Linked DNA regions of Homo sapiens: all the other regions are linked to region 1. Evidence: promoter capture Hi-C in 16 types of primary human blood cells and fetal thymus (Javierre and others, 2016). All regions are on one chromosome and are shown on one strand. The core of a region is centred on a gene start or on the middle of the fragment in contact, and the rest is flanking DNA. Distances in the headings are between cores, read along the strand shown. Region 1 holds the start of SIRT5 (sirtuin 5). Region 2 overlaps PHACTR1 (phosphatase and actin regulator 1). Region 3 overlaps PHACTR1 (phosphatase and actin regulator 1). Region 4 overlaps PHACTR1 (phosphatase and actin regulator 1).

Region 1 (4,195 bases), core at 528-3,027:
GGGTTTCATTCCTGGCCAGGAATAGAGAAGGAGTAAACTTTCACTCTAAAGACCCCCTTCTTCCAGAGCTTTGGGAAGCTGGGGAATTGTAAGGCGTTAGATGTGGAGTGGGGAGGTATGCAAGCATATGCCGGGAGGAACTCTAGACGCACAGGTGCATTTCATAAACATGCCTCTTCATACAATGCACTATCAGAAAATGGCGGCGATTCTCTTCTACGGGTCGGGAGTTGAGCATATAATGATGTATTAATGATCTAAAAGTAACAAGGGGTGGCTGGTTCTGGTTTTCTCTGGTTCCTAGTAGGCCTTATCTTTCTCTGGTACTTGGCAAAGGGCAGTGAGGATCCCGGGCCAACCGCAGTTGTTTTAAGCTGGGTTACCTATAGATAAAGAGACTAGGAAAAAAAATCAAACAAACAAAACGGTTTAAAAAACAATGAGCATTTTCAGCTGTCTACTGTTTAAGAAAATAATGAGCTCTCAGTTTTGCCCTCTGAGCGATTTCTCCAGGACTGCCCTGGTAACACTACTACTCAACAGTTTTGTGCTTTGCGCAGTTACTTGACCTCCCTGGGCCTCGGTTTCCCCACCCATAAAGTGGGGATAACAGTACCTATTTCATCAGGTGGTGGGGACGATTTAAAATGGTTAATAATGTGCAGTTCTTAAAAGTGTCTGGCTCAGAATAAGCACCATACACGTTAGGGGGAAAAACAGCAGCCGGATGTGAGGCCCTCCCCAATTTCGTTACTCCATAAACCTCTGAGTTGCTGGTAACACCTGCAGGAATGAGAAGGGCCTCAACATGGGCTGAATTTCCAGCCAAACTGTGGGAAGTGGCTGAGATTTTAGGTAGGCAAAAAATGTTAATGTAACATTTTTGGCCCCCAAGTTCTCAGACCACTTACTTCCCTTTCTAGTCCACTGACATGCCCGCAAGCAATTCCATTCTGCCAAGTGGTGCTGGTGGCAAGCCGGAATCCAAGAAAAGGAAAGACTCCGATTTTAAGGGAACGGGGACATGCGGAGCCACGTGAGTCACTGGGTCCCAGAGCCACGGAAGGCTCTCAGCTCAGCAGTCAGAGTGCACTCGTCATTGCGTTCGAGGTTAGGTGGCCTAGCCTGGGAACCAACTCACCGTCATTTGAAATCGTTTTAGGGAAAATGACCCTAACATTTAAAATCCTCTCTCCTGAAGTTGTGTGGTCCAGCCGTTTGCTGAAGGAGGAAGCAAAGCCGGTAGTAACTCACTACATATTTGGGCAGTGGAATGAACCCTGGAAGCTGACAAAGTCGAAGCAAGTCACTGCGCCGCCCCCCACCCCCACCCCCACCCCAAATAAAAACAGAGAGACAATCCTTCAATTATAAAGAAGACCACGGCGCCCGGGTCTCCGGCAGGGGCCGCTGCAGCCGAGCAGAACGCTGAGCCGCTCCGCCCCACGGCCTCCTCTCCAGCCGGCGCGCCCGCCTCCCGCAGGTGCGTCTCTGCCTGCGCCGGGCCGGGGTCTCCGCGGCCTCTCCCGCTCGGGCTCCGGCTTCGAGGTCCCGACCAAGCACTGCTCTCGCGGGACTGCGCGCACCGCCCAGGGCCTGCCGCGGGCTCGCGAGCGGAGGTGGCACCGGTCCGCGGTGCGCATGCGCGGCCCGGCCTCTGCCCTGCGGTCCCGGGCTGGTGACTGGCTAGCGGTTGGAGGAAGGGATGTGGGGGATGGTGGGTGGGTACAGAGAGCTGGGAGGGAGGCACCCCGGGGGGCGGGGCGTGGGAGACTGTATTCGGGGGCGCGAGCTGCCCCAGGTGAGCCGTGGCTCAGGTCCGGAGCGCGGTCGGGACACAGCGCCTCTAGGAGAAAGCCTGGAAGGCGCTCCGGGGGTACCCAGAGCTCTTAGCGGGCCGGCAGCATGTGCGGGGCCCAAGGTCTTCCGGGCTCTGCGTGGGGGTCGCTGCGGCTGGAGACCAGGGAGGGGGATGGAAACGGGGTTGGAAAGTAATCCCACCCGAGCAGGTGGGCATGGGAGGCCGCTGTGCTGGGGAGCCCCGCGAGGGCTCCGAACAGAGCCTCCCTTTTCAGAAAGGTCACCCTGGTCATTGCAGCTGCCAGGGTGACCGAGGAAGGTGGCCGGGGTGGAGGCAGTGGGCGTGGAGAGGGGTCGGATTCCGGACGTAGTTTGAAGGTGGAGCCGTCAGGTTCTGCTGAGCAGCTTGGCTATGGGGCGTGCGAGAAGGGAAGGCTCAGGGCCTAGTCCCTGGGCACGAGTAGTAGCCGGGAGGATGAAGTCCCAGTGCTTCGGGGGGAGGCGGCTTGAGGACGGCTCTGGAGCTCAGGCTTGCCCGCGTGGAGTGGAAGCTGCCTCTTGGACACAGGGCGGGGAGGCCGCATGCAGTCTGGCGCGCTGGGAGGATGGGAGATCCAGAGGGGCAGGGCTGGAGGGGTAGGAGGAAAACCTGAAGAGGGTGGCGCCCGGAAGCCCGGGAAAGTGATGAACTGGGTCAGAGGCCGGGTATCAACAAATAGGAGGGTGGAGACGACCTTGAGGAAAGCAGGTGATGGAACGGGAGGGAATGGGGCCCCCTAGTGGAGACACCTGGGAGTGATGTATTGCATTTATTTAGCTCTTAGGCGTTCAAAAATTATTTATTGGGAGCCTGTACAACTTTTTGCAGTTCATTGCATTATCCTTAGCATGTATTTTGTTTTATATAAATATATATTTATATAATTATTTTTATTGACAAATTTATATATTTATAGCGTACAGTGTAATGTTTTGATATATGTATACATTGTAGAAAGATTAAATCAAGCTAATTGACATATCCATCACCTCACCTACTTATTTTTTGTGGTGAAAATCTACTCTCCTGGAAATATACAATACATCATCAACTATGGTCACCATGCTGTGCAGTAGATCACTAAAACTTACTCCTCTTACCTAACTAAAACTTTGTATCCTTTGACCAACATCCCTCCCTTCCACATCAGCCCTCTGCCAGGCCCCTGGTAACCATCATTCTACTCTGCTTCTATGAGTTCAACTTTTTTAGACCCCAAGTATATAAGTAAGATCATGTGCTGTTTGTCCTTCTGTGCCTGGCTTATTTTACTTGGCCTCATGTCCTCCAGGTTCATCCATGTTGTTGCAAATGACAGAATTGCCTTCTGTTTTAAGACTGTATAGTATTCCATTGTATATATGTGCCACATTTTCTTTATCCGGTCCTCAGTTGATGGATACTTAGTTGCTTCTATATCTTGGTTATTGTGAATAATGCTGAAAACAACACAGGAATGCAGCTATCTCTTCAACATACTGATTTCAATTCCTTTGTATATATACCCAGAAGTAGGATTTCTGGGTCATGTGGTAATTCTATTTTTAGATTTTGAGGAGCCTCCATACTGTTTTCCAAAATGGCTGTACTAATTTACATTCCACCAACAGTGTACCAGGGTTCCCTTTTCTCCACATTCTGGACAAAACTTGTTGTCTTTGATCTTTTTTATAATAGCCATTCTAACAAGCGTGAGGTGGTAGCTCAGTGTGATTTAATTTGCATTTCCCTGGTGGTTAGCAAAGTTGAGCGTTTTTCATGTATTTGTTGACCATTCATATGTCTTCTTTTGAGGAATACCTGTTCAGGTTCTTTGTCCATTTTTTAACCGGGTTATTCGTTTTGTTTTGTTTTGCTGTTGAGTTTTTTGAGTTTCTTATATATTTTAGATAAGAGCCCCTTATCAGATGCATGGTTTGCAAATATTTTCTCCCAGTCTGTGGGTTGTCTCTTTACTCTGTTAATTATTTTCTTTGCTGTGCAGAGGCTTTTTAGTTTGATGCAATCCCATGTGTCTATTTTTGCTTTTGTTGCTTTTGGGGTCCTATCCAAGAAATCATTGCCCAGACTAATATGGAGTTTTCACCTATGTTATCTTCTATTAGTTTTACAGTTTCAGGTGTTATGTTTGAGACTTTAATCTATTTTGAGTTGATTTTTGTATATGGTGTGAGATAAGGACTCAATTTTGTTATCCAGCATGTGGATATTCAGTTTTCCTGATGCCATTTATTAAAGAGACTTTCCTTTTCCCATTGTGTGTTCTTAGCACCTTTGTCAAAAATCAATTGACTGTAAATACTTGGGCTTATTTCTGGGCTTTCTATTCCTGTTCCATTGGTTGATGTGCCGATT
Region 2 (4,195 bases), core at 1,093-3,592, 670 kb before region 1:
AGGGGACATTTGGCAATGTCTGGGACGTTTTTGGTTGTCATAACTTGGGAGGGGCTGGAGAATGCTACTGGCATCTAACAGTGTAGCCAGGGAGTTGCTAAGCCCCCTACATGCACAGGACATCCCCTTGCAGACAATGCAAATGATCCAGCCCTCAAGGTCAGCAGAACTGAGATTAAGAACCTGCTATAGGCCAGGCCTGGTGGCTCATGCCTATAATCCCAGCACTTTGGGGGACGGAGGGAGGTGGATCACCTGATGTCAGGAGTTCGAGACCAGCCTGGCCAAAATGGCGAAACGCTGTCTCTATTAAAAATACAAAAATTAGCTGGATATGGTGGCACGTACCTGTAATATCAGCTACTCAAGAGGCTGAGACAGGAGAGTCACTTGAACTCGGGAGGCAGAAGTTGCAGTGACCAGAGAGCACACAACTGCACTCCAGCCTGGGCGACAGAGCAAGATCCTGTCTCCAAAAATAAAGAACCTACTATAATGAGTTTTCCCAACAATCTTCCCCTTACCTTCCAATACTTCTAGGTTCGTCCATTGGATGAACTTCTAGGTTCTTCCATTGGATGAACATACAACATCTCCTCGGGTAAACATAGTGTCAGCTCCATCAACAAACAGTGTCCCAGTTCATCTCTGTGGTATCACTTTTCTCCACATCTTTCCTAGGCTGAGGGGCATAACCTGGATTTTCTTTTCCCAGCATTCATTTTCTTCCTCTTGAATGTTCGATTGCTCCATCAATCAACTGGATGATGATTGAATGAATCAATACATTCATCAATATATGAAGAACATATAACTGGCCTGGAGAATGTGCAGATTCGCTCACTACTCTCTCAAAGCAGGATGAACTATCCATATTTTGATAAAGCTGAACAAACCCACACTGTCCATCTCAACAGGCCACTTAAGACCCCAGCAACCCGGTCCCCAGAAGACACTCAGCTTACTTAGGGCAATGACACCATTTGTCGAGACCCAACCGGCCCCTTGTGACTGCCTTCCTCCATGAGTTCCAAACATCCCTGGTGGCTTTTTCAACTTACGAATTTGAGGTGAAGGAAGAAGAGAAGCAAACGTCTTCATGAGAGGTGACAAAGTGTGGTGGTGAAGAGCGAGGGTCCTGCAGCCAGACACCTGCTTTCGGCTCCCAGCTCTGCCATGCATTACCTGGGAGACTTGGCCACCTTCCTTAACCACTGTGTTCCTCAGTTTCCTTATTTATAAGGTGGGAATGCCGTCAAGGGTTCCTGAGAGGATCAAATGAATAAGGATAAGGAAAGCACTTAGAACAGTATAAGGCACAAAGCAACTGTGTGGTAAAGGGTGGATATTATTAAAGGGAGACATGTCTTCAAGTAGGAGCCAAGAAGTGAATGTTCCCATCACTAATACCAACCTAAAATAGCATTAGTCCAAATGTATCATGCACGTGGTCAGCATAGCCAAAGGTTGCCTCACTGCAAGGTTAAAGAAGAAGCTAAACAAATTTCACTTCCTTACAAGGGCAACAGGACTGGACTCCATCCTTCTTGACATGGGTTGTTTCCTCTTTCCTATTTAAGAATGAGCACATTGGGTGCAATTCTCCAAGGCTCCCCACTGGTTTATTCTGCCCTCCTGGCCTTTGCCCTTAGAAAGGTTTATAGCCTTCTCCCTAATAACTCAGTACATAATCATTAAGAAGCATGAGTAAAATGGGACTTTAATTACTTTATTAAAGGTAATAAATATGTCTATGCCCTTGAGATCATATAAAAATAGCTTAAAATCATTGGCCATAGTTATATTTTCCACGAGCTGAGTTTTAAAATATGTATAAAGTCTGTGGTAAATTAAGAGAGATTTCAGCCTACTAACAATTCCTAAACCATTCTAAATGGGTCAGGAATTCAACTGGGATATCTATGATTTTTTTGTTTCTTCTTATTTCCTGATAATGCCATATGTTTTATAATTTAGCATCTTATTAAGGAGGTGAGAGCCTTAAAACTTTTAAAGTCAATTCCTGTTTTTAACTATTAAAAATAATTTTTAGTGGAGAGTTTGCTTATTATTATTTTGACACAATGCCTGCATTCATTTTAAGATTTAGGGGATTACTGAGCTATTCTTTTACATATCTCCAGCATATCATGCAGCATCTGGAACAGAGAAGACATTTTCATTTATGTTTATTAAATAACCAAAACATACATATGAATTAACAAATAAACTATATATAAAGGCAATAGTTAGGGCTTTCTTTTAGCATTTCCTTTTGTCTTTAAACTAGTCTCTTTTATAGAAACTACTCATTACGGCCGGGTGCAGTGGCTCATGCCTGTAACCCCAGCAATATAGGAGGCTCTGAGGTCAGGAGTTCAAGACCAGCCTGCCCAACATGGTGAAACCCCATCTCTACTAAAAATACAAAAAAAATAGCCAGGCGTGGTGGCAGGTGCCTGTAATCCCAGCTACTTGGGAGCCTGAGGCAGGAGAATTGCTTGAACCCGGGAGGCGGAGGTTGTGGTGAGCTGAGATCTTCCCACTGCACTCCAGCCTGGGCAGCAAGAGCAAAACTCCATCTCAAAAAAAAAAAAAAAAGTGAAGAAAGAACAGAAACTACTCATTACAGTAGTTTACTTGCCGTAAGAATCACATCAAACATTAAACCTTTCCACCTTCATTTTCCTAACACCTCTTTGACTTGGGGAAGGATAAATGACTCTTTACCTGCAGGGTGAACCAGCTACATACCCCGAGGCACTGACCCGGACTCAGTCTAGCACAATCAGAACCCCATCCAACCAGCCTAATATGTCATGTAAAGGGCACGGTCTGACTTCTGAGAGAGGTGGATCTCAATCTCATCGCTGCTGCTTCTTAATCCCTTTGAGCCTCAATTTCTTTTTGTATATAAAGGGAACAATAGTGATTTTGTTGAGATGAGGTATGCAAAGTCCCTGGCATGCAGTGAGCACTCAGCAATAAGTGCTATTTATTGGGCCAGGATTCCAACTAGTTTCATAAAAATAGCAGGAAAGTCCAGTGGAAAGCCCACTTGATGGTAGGGGAGGCTTCTACCCACCAACTAATTCCATGTTTCTCAACCCTGCACTGAACGTCAAAATCACCTGGGGAACTTTTGAAAAATTATGATGCCTGGTCCCAACCCCATGGAGCCTGGCTTAAATGGGGACAAGATAGCTATAGATTTTTAAAGTTTCTCCAGGGGATTCTAATGACCACCCAGGGTGGAAAAGCATGGAGCTAACGGGGTGCAGGACCAGTGTCCTCATAGGAAGTCAAAGGTTTGGTGGTAAACAACCACTGAAGCACATTTTCAAGGTAAGATCCATTGGAATGTATATTCCTGTCCTTAAACTCAAACTAGTTTAAAGTGATGGGTATCTTTTAATAAGACCTTCAGCGCTGGTTCTAGAGCTGCCTGTTCCCATACTATGTGTCTAATCAGCAGCCATATATTCATTTAAGTACAAAATTTGTCGAACACATCCTATATGCTAGGAACTGTGCTATTCTTCTGGGGTCCAGAACTGAGGGTGACACGGTCTTTGCTGTCATTTCCGGTCTAGTGAAGGAGATAGAGGAGAGTGACAGTTCTATGTGACAGACAGCAGGAGAGGGATAACTAAAACAGGCTCAGGAGGGAGAGGGCATGACAGCACATCCAGAGAAGGTGATGACAAGGAATTAACCAGGCAGAGAAGAGAGGTCCAAAGACAGGATTTTGGTGGCTTGAGTGAGGAGTATTTGCCAGTTTCATGTAACAACCATAAATTCATATTGCTTTATATTTAACTTATCAGTTTAAGTCAGTGGGCACCTTTTATACATTTAAGATGATATTAGGATAGTAGGGGCTTAGAATATTCCTACGTGGCAACATCTCATTAATTAAATTTCCTGGGATGTATGTGTGACAGTGTCCCAACATAGCATAGTAAAGAGGTTGAATGAATAACTTTTAGTATTGCTTCTAACTATTTTAAAGTTCTAGAACAGAAGTGGAATGGTTTTGCAAGTTGCCTTTCTCTCACTTTATTTCTGCTTTTCTATTTATGTAATAGACTAATTAAGGCACATTTTGTGTGTCTGTCATTGTCTATATATGAGATAGTCAGATTCATGGAAATGTCACTTGTGGTCTGAGTGTAAAATGAAATCTCTGGTAGTT
Region 3 (4,195 bases), core at 1,057-3,556, 650 kb before region 1:
TTAAAAATCTGTCATCTGAAATAAACTGTCAAGGAGTCTGACTTTGCAGTGATGTTAATGAATGTTTTTCATTATCTCTTCATTAATGGTAATCCATTCATTATTAAGTTTTTGCTTCTCTTCCTGTTCCTATTTTCCCTGCCAGGCACTATAAGGAGTGAGGCAGAATGCAATATTGAAATAAATTTGTAGCTACATTATAATTCATAAATTGTAGAATTATGGTGAATGTAAAAGTACTGTCATTATCAAAGTGCCCCTTTGAACAAGGCCAAGGCCAGGCCAAGGTGAAGTAGGAGCAAAATAAACAAAAGAAAGAAAGTAGCTGTAAGAAGGTGTACATTTCTATGTCAAGCAGCTTTTGGGGATGGATGGGGATTATGCTGTAAAATTCAAGGGACTGGAAAATAGAACCCCTAATAATAACTGCTACCACTTTTGAGTGATTAATCATGTTTCAAACACTGTACAAAACATCTCATTTAGCTATAAGTCAGCCTTTTGAGTTGGATACTGGGTTTGGCATTTGATTTTGGTACTACTATCCTTGCTTGATACATGAAGTTTAGACAAATTAAGGCACTTGTCCCCAGTTCAGAGCTAGGACTAGGGTGAGACAAATGAGACACTTAGGGTGCAGACTTTCAGGATGTGCCCGTTCTCACATTGGTGCAGTGCACCTGGGAATGGGCACCTCCTTAAACCAAGCACCCTAAGCTTGTCACTTGCTTCACTCTATCCCTGCCCTGCCATGATCACACAACTAGAAAGAAAATGGCCAAGTAATTTTTTAGATCAGGTCCAAAGTTCATGTTCTTGACCACTTTGTTAGGAACCAGCACAGGCATTCACACCCAGCTTTCTGGAGAATAAATTCGATAACTAATGAGTATCTACCAATGCTGGGCACAGGGCTGAGTGTGCAGGACACACAGAAATGAAAAAGACAGTCCTTGTCTTCAAGACTAAAATGCTAGTGCACTGTGAAACACTGACATCCTACCCATGCTGGAGGGAAGGATGGAAGGAAGGAAGGAAGGAAGGAGGGAAGGAAGGAAGGAAAGAAGGAAGGAAGGAAGGGGAGGGAGGGAGGGAGGAGGGAAAGGAGGAAGGAGGAAGGAAGGAAGGAGGGAAGGAAGGAGAAGAAGGAAGGGAGGAAGGGAGGAAGGAAGGAAGAAAGGGAGGAAGGAGAGGGAGGGAGGGAGGGAAGAAGGAAGGGAGGGAGGAGGGAAAGGAAGAAGGAGGAAGGATGGAAAGAAGCAAGGAGAAGGAATGAAGAAGGGAAGGAAGGAGAGGGAGGGAGGAGGAAAGGAAGGAAGGAAGAAGGAAGGGAGAGAAACAGGGAGGGAGGGAAGAAGGAAGGGAGGGAGGGAGCAAGGGGGAAGGAAGGAAGGGAGGGAGAGAGGGAGGCAGGAAGGCAAGAAGGCTGGTCCATGCATTGCTGTGTATTGCATCTCAGTGTTGTCTGGCTCTAGTGCCAGCAGGCCTTGTGAAAAGGGCCCTTACTCTCTCTCAGATTCATTCTCCACATCTGCAAATAAGAATGATGGTGCCTGTGCTATCCACATCACAAAGTCACAGTAAAAACAAGTATCAAAAGGAGATGATCACTTTGCTTTGTGGCACTATAAAGCAGAGAACATCTGTGAGCTACTTTTATAAGGAATACCCCATGTCATTTGCAGAACATTGAATGGGGAGTTGGGATCCCTGGGTTCTAATTTCTGGGTTGCCTTTTATTGGCAGTATGACCTCACAAAGGACTCTTCTCCTTGCAAGATCTTGCTTCCTCATTCATTAAATGGGAAAATTGGAATAAAAAATGACTCTAAGACTTCATAATTGTGACTGAAGTATTGAGGGTAATGTTTAGCAAAAGCATGTAAAATTATTCATAGCTCTGTCTTATTTTACGTAGATCAGTACACATTAATAATATTGGCTTTAGAGAACTGCATGCAGTGTATGGTGCTGGAGCCCAGGGAAAGTAAAGCAAGGGCATGTGAGTTAGCTTGTGCAGAGCCATCAGCATCCATAAAGGAATAAAGCAAAGTTCTCATCCTAACCTAAAATGAGAGTTTGAATATGCATGGAACAGCTAGATCGTGTTTAGAAGTCACATCCATAAACATGGAGATGGAAACAAGAACATATATCTCCTAGCTGATTCTCCATGCATTGATTTCAACTTTCCATTTCACTCCTCCTACTATCCTTTACCCATTCATTTTCAATAGTGTGCATTCCTAGTCAGTGGGTGGTAAGAAGGAGTATGGAAGTAAATACCTTCTAAGTAGATCTGAAGGACTTACTAGTTGCTTACTAATTCACTAATTCTATGAAGAAATTATCTGCAGCTCTGAAGAGGTATACATTATCCACTGAGACCATTGTCTATTAAGATTGGCATTGCCTTTGGAGTCAGGGTACAGGAATTAAAAGGAATAGCACCTCCTCCCACAACCCACCCTATTCCTAGAACTCTGCATCAGACCCCGGAGTAAATTGAAAGAACTATATTCCTTTAGTAAATACTTACTGAATGTTTTCTACAGACACTATGTCAGGAGATATGTAATCTGCCATAATTCTGATTGCAAAAATCCCCCATGCAATTTTGATTACAAAAATAGAATCCGAAACAGAGCCTTCCTCCATAAATCTATTGCCTGTGCAGCTAGGAATAGTTACAGAGACTTCCAGTAACTCAAAAGTTAATGCAAAGGAGACTAAGGATGTGCCCAAACTAGAAGAGATGAGAGGAGACAGGGGTCTAGATATGACTGACAAGTCTTTATCAAAGGTCATGGAAATGAATCTATCCCAAAGGACCTATGCTTTAATAATAAATAGTAAAAAAGATGTATGATTGAGAATTTACTTTGAAAAATGAATCTATGTAAGTTAATGTCATCCTCTAATGAAATTTAGGATAAAATATTACATGCTATAATTTATAGAACACAAAATAATTTTCACTAAAAATAATTTTGCAACAAATATTATGATAGCACAATGCAATATCCTTGACATCATGCATGACTTCTGCAGCATGATCCAAAAGAGAATCGCATTTGCTAAATTTTTTGAGAACCCCCTCCATTTTCCTAATACCAATACTTTGATATTGAAATTATTTCCATGGAAGCATCTATCTTATCATTATCCTTGCCAATTCTTTTTTTCCTTCTCAGTTACAAATGAATCTCTTTCAGAAGCTCATGATTCACTAGTTTTGCAGTTCTCCCCCATCATTTTCACTAACTTCAAGAAACCATGCATTCTTCACCAGATTTGCTCTTTCCCTTTGCAATTGATTTTAATTGTGTTGTCAGGTAACATTAGACACGAATGAGAAACCGATCTTCAAAGACAGGATAGGCCTGAAGAGGCAGTAGTGTAAGGAAGTGAGAGAGATGATGACTAATTTTATAAGCAGTAGGTTCATGTGTCACATGTTGATATTACAATGATTGTTTGCCTCTCTAAACACCACCATAAAGGTGGAGGTTTGGATAATGAAGAGCTTCTGTTCGTGGTAATAAGGTAACATTCTAAAGTAAACTGAATATCAAACACTTTAATTTACTAATTCAATCTTGAAAGACATGATCTCCAAATACAAACTGTGCTTTTTGTTGCTGTTGTATTGGGGTAAGTTTTGGAGGCAGTAGTTTAGATGATATAAAATATTTGCCCTTAAAGCTAAATTGACCTACTTTATAAACTGCTGAGACTATGTGTTTCTAGATAATACATGTGTATGTATGTAAATACATATATACATAAATATATTTACATATAGGCACAGATAAACGTGTGTGTCCATACATATGCCAACATGTGTTAATTTGTAATTATATTTAGGTTATTTAAAGTAAATGCAAACAACAATTCAAGCTTTATTATTGGTCTTATGTGTGTTTCTACAAGCAACCATCCCAAACTGGTTAAATTTTCTATTGACACTGATTTGCCCATCTTTTGGCAATGCACTAATTTCCATGAACTCTTAATGAGATATACAATGAGATTTAAAATTTTAAACTATATGCCGGGCACGGTGGCTCACGCCTGTAATCCCAGCACTTTGGGAGGCCGAGGTGGGTGGATCACAAGGTCAGAAGATCGAGACCATCCTGGCTAACATGGTGAAACCTTGTCTCTACTAAAAATACAAAAAATTAGCTGGGCA
Region 4 (4,195 bases), core at 1,057-3,556, 630 kb before region 1:
TAAGAATAATGAGTAACCATTGGAAAATACAATGGTAAAGCCTTTAATTTAGATGTCACTTGGTCTCTCCATAATCGAAGGAGAGATTGCCTTAGGTAACTGATGCCTTAGGTAGGTGGTGCCTTAGCATCAGTTAATTCAGTACATTTGCTTGATATAAAACTTGAACAATCAACAAGAAGCAGTTTGGCATAGGAGGAAAAGTTCTGGACTGGATGTCAGAAAACCTGGATTTGAGCCCACCTAACATAGAAATCCCTGGTTTGTACTCTGTCTCCCACATTTAACAAGAGTGTGACTGTTAACCAGTCACTTCTCGTATCTAGAACTCTTTCCTCATCAGTCAAAATCCCAGCCAAGTCTAAGGCTGACGCATAGCTCATACTAATTGGAGAAAAGCAGTAGATTATACAAGTAGCTGTATATTCATGACATTCACACCATTCCACTCTTCTTTATTGATGTGGAATTCTACATCTCAGAGCTGCAAGCAACCTAAGTGAGCATAAAAGAGAACCGAGACCCCAGGAGCTAGGGGGGGCCAGAGGTGCCCCACTAGTCACTGGCAGAGGTGGGCTCAAATCCAGGTTTTCTGACATCCAGTCCAGAACTTTACCTCCAATGCCAAACTGTTTCTTGTTGATTGTTCAAGTTTTATAGCCAGCAAATGTACTGAATTAATTGAGTGCATTTTTTCCACTTTATAATGAATTTGGGTGGCAGTCACCTGTCTCAGAATGTTTACTATACAATTTGTGATCAAATCCCAGATGCTTCTGTCCTCAGGACCCAGAGTAACACCTTGCCAGCTAGGTAAATGCGGCAAGAAAGGAAACACTTTTGGGGAGAGAAGCTGTAATAAGAGAGACAAATACATGATTCATTTCCCCCCTGCTGTTAGTTTAAGATATAATTACCCAAACTTTAAAAATAAAACCTGAACACCATCACAGCCTCTGCGACACAATGGCAAAAGCACACCCTCTTGCAACAGCACCAATCACATATTTAACAACTGCTGTTTTAGGTTTAAGCTAATTAGGGAATGATTTTTGGTACATGTATTCCTATTGCAATTAAATAACTCATGGTGTGGGATGGCATTGTGAAGTCTTCTTAAAACTGCTTTTCAGCTTTTTGTGTTAAAAGATGAATTTCATATATATAACATGGTTGTAAGGGGTTTGTGTTTTAACTCATGAGAGCCTGCATATGTTGGTTTAGGGTTACTTTTCTTTAGGGCAAATTCAGCAACAGGGTAAGAGGCTGGAAGAGTTTCTATTTAGAATGGTGAAATATTCAGTGGAGATAAAATTGCTTTATGATGTTTGCCCCAGAAGTCAGTTGAGAATTCGTAATAGATGAAAAGCCTTGACTTTAAGGAGGTGGAAGTCCTCATGGAACTTTTTGCTAGGAAGTTGCTCAGAAGTGATGGAAATATACATTCTCGCCTCTGTGTGTCATGTCCTACATACATCTCATCCTGGCTTTGACATGGGTAAAGCAAGCAGGTTGGAGATTTTTATGTTGATCTTCACGTTTAATGACTCTCTGAGTGCTGTGCTGCTCATCTGTGCCATCTACGTTTCTCAGCCTCCCATTAGTGGGACTATTTTAATGTTTGAACACACTTGTCCCTTAATATGTATCATTTGGACAGAGACGCTTACTATCTGTTCATGACGGATGCTAAGACAGAAAAATCGGGACAGACAGAAATGATTCTTACTACTGTCACCCCATGTAGCAATGGCTTCAAGGTGTCTGTATAGATTGTCCTTAGTAATTACAATATTATTGGAAGGAGAGCCTGGGGGCTTGGCCTTAAAGAGGTGCTTGCAGAGTAAGCATATGATTTTCACTTGGCCGTTATGTTTCCTGGGCTTTTTATGGCATCAATCTCATATGAGCAATCCTTTTCTACCTACCAGTGAGGCTCAGGGTCAAGGGCACTCCACTCACCTTTGTAGTTCACCTACAGAAAACCCTTGAGTCCCAATACGTTTGGGTAAACTTTCTTCAGCTGGTGAAAGGCTAAACCAGACCAGCAGTAAAGTCCTCTTTAAGAAGTATCCTCAGAGTCGTAGCAAATTACTGACAGGTACTTGATATTTAACCTACATCACATATTCTGTGTCACATCTGGTGCTTGGCCCACTGCAGTTGTGGCACTCTTTATGGCCATTTGTTATGGCATAAATCACCTCTGTAAAATGATGAAGGGTCTTTCTTACAAGTCATAACTGTGAAGAGAAGCAAGCAGAAAACCACAGTAGTACCAGGCTGATTGTAAGTAAAGAAGAGGTGGAGGGGCCTCATCACTCAGCACATTGCTCTAAGACCTTTCCTCAGCAGGGAGAGTTCGTGACCGGATGTCACTACCTCTCACTCGCCACTTCCTGCCTCTCCACTTGAATCTGCTCCTACCTTCAGTAAGTAGGAGCCAAACGTCCTTGAAGTGTAGCATTGGGGTTCTGGGAAGCTGCAGAGTTGTGAATTATGGGTGTACGTCAGGACAGGCGAGCCTCGAAGCAGCATGAGTCAGGGATACAGCATAGTCAGAGCCCAGGGCAGATTCTCAGCCAGAAGCAAGCATACAAGCAAAAGTATATGCAACCTGATGTTTGTAACGCTGAAGGCTTGCACTGGCATAGAAAAATATGTAAAGTGAACTCAAAGGTCATTATATGGGGCTTGCAATCAAAACATCATGAGTGGACCTGAATTAACTAAAATGCATTTTCTAATACAGACAGAGAGTTCTTTGATATTTCCTTTTGGAGAAGCTCCTCCCCAAGGTATGAAACACTTTGAGCAGGAGATAAATGGCTCATCAATTCCCCCATTCTGCCAGCAACTGACCTCATCCAGAGTGGGATTAAAGGAAAAGTACCCATAAGAAAATCTCTGCCTACATTCATTGACATTGAGTTTCCAATGCCACATCCCATCTTTTGCCCACCCTTGAGGAAACAGAATATTCCAACAGACATGCAACAACAAAAAAAGAAGGAAAAAAGAGAAAAAATTGATAATCCTCAAAATGATCTGAGTCATTTCCCATTAAATATGTCATTATTTCCATATGATTATGTGCCTTTTAGTGTGCCTAGCACTGTGCTACTTAAACACCACAGGGATATCAAGTAGTAGAAACACAATACAAGCTAATACTTTTTGAGTATTTATTGCCAAGTGATATACTACACTTTTGAAATACCCTGCCCTGTTTAAAGTAACCACAACTTCATGTTGTAGTTAGAGCTAGTTCTTTCTTTTACACGTGATGAAACTAAGTCTTAGGAGTCAAACAACTAGTTTAAAGTCACACAGTGGCCAGGTGCAGTGGTTTACACCTGTAATCCCAGTCACTTGGGAGGCCGAGACAGGAGAATCGCTTGAACCCAGGAGGCGGCAGGTTCAGTGAGCCGAGATCATACCACTGCACTCCAGCCTGGGCGACAGAACGAGATCCTGTCTCAAATAAATAAATGTAAATAAGGTCACAATGATACATGACAAGCCTGGGATTGGAATTCATACAGTCCAACTCCAATGCCCTAGTGTTTGACAATGCAGTTCCACTGAAGAAAGTAGCTTATGAGCTAGTGGAGAAATGAATCATACAAGTCAATCTTCCTGACCGATGCTGATACAAGCACACATATCCCAAAGCTCCATAGCTCTTTCACCCAGGCATTTCAGCAGGTATAGATCTGCCCTACCAACCACATTCAATCTTTGCAGAATCCTGGTAATATTCAATAGAAAAGTATTATTCATTCCTCAATAGGTTAAACATAGAATTACCATATGACCCAGCAATTCCACTCCTAGACAGATATCCTAAAGAATTAGAAACAGATGTTCAAACAAAAACTTGTACAGGAATGTTCATAGCAGCGTTACTCACAATAGCCAAAAGGTAGAAACACCCACAAATGTTCATCAATGAACAAAGTGTGGACAAACAATATGTGGCATATCCATATAATGAAATATTATTCAGCCATAGAAAGAAAGAAAGTACTGACATGTGTACTTTATGGATGAACCTTGAAAATACTATGCCAAGAGAAAGAAGCCACATATGTCTGATTCCATTTACATGAAATGTCCAGAATAGGCAAATTCACAGAGACAGGAGGCAGGTTGGTTTTACCAGGGGGCTAAGGAAAATGGGAGAATGAGGTAT

The links. The method cuts DNA at HindIII sites, captures the fragments that hold promoters and counts their contacts. A CHiCAGO score of 5 or more calls a contact.
Region 2: a contact is called between a fragment that was not itself captured here and the fragment with the promoter of SIRT5 in region 1, in 2 of 17 cell types (monocytes and M2 macrophages). The highest score is 6.4, in monocytes.
Region 3: a fragment that was not itself captured here is called in contact with the fragment with the promoter of SIRT5 in region 1 in 1 of 17 cell types (naive B cells); the score reaches 5.3 in naive B cells.
Region 4: a contact is called between a fragment that was not itself captured here and the fragment with the promoter of SIRT5 in region 1, in 1 of 17 cell types (megakaryocytes). The highest score is 6.0, in megakaryocytes.

The regions. Positions count from the first base shown.
Region 1 is chr6:13,572,824-13,577,018 of GRCh38, forward strand. It overlaps SIRT5 (sirtuin 5), which reads left to right and starts at 1,778. Exons shown (of 10, transcript NM_012241.5): 1 at 1,778-1,921. It overlaps LOC105374937 (a long non-coding RNA gene), which reads right to left and starts at 1,611. Exons shown (of 2, transcript XR_926497.4): 1 at 1,142-1,611; 2 at 1-398. RefSeq lists a silencer at 1,331-1,850 and enhancers at 1,543-2,129, 2,061-2,540, 2,130-2,715. The HindIII fragment of the contact is 7,984 bases long and covers 1-4,195 here.
Region 2 is chr6:12,901,950-12,906,144 of GRCh38, forward strand. All of the region lies in intron 4 of PHACTR1 (phosphatase and actin regulator 1), which reads left to right. Among named protein-coding and RNA genes, the nearest start is that of PHACTR1, 190 kb to the left of the region's middle. The HindIII fragment of the contact is 4,961 bases long and covers 1-4,195 here.
Region 3 is chr6:12,920,441-12,924,635 of GRCh38, forward strand. All of the region lies in intron 4 of PHACTR1 (phosphatase and actin regulator 1), which reads left to right. Among named protein-coding and RNA genes, the nearest start is that of PHACTR1, 210 kb to the left of the region's middle. The HindIII fragment of the contact is 3,183 bases long and covers 716-3,898 here.
Region 4 is chr6:12,939,178-12,943,372 of GRCh38, forward strand. All of the region lies in intron 4 of PHACTR1 (phosphatase and actin regulator 1), which reads left to right. Among named protein-coding and RNA genes, the nearest start is that of PHACTR1, 220 kb to the left of the region's middle. The HindIII fragment of the contact is 5,602 bases long and covers 1-4,195 here.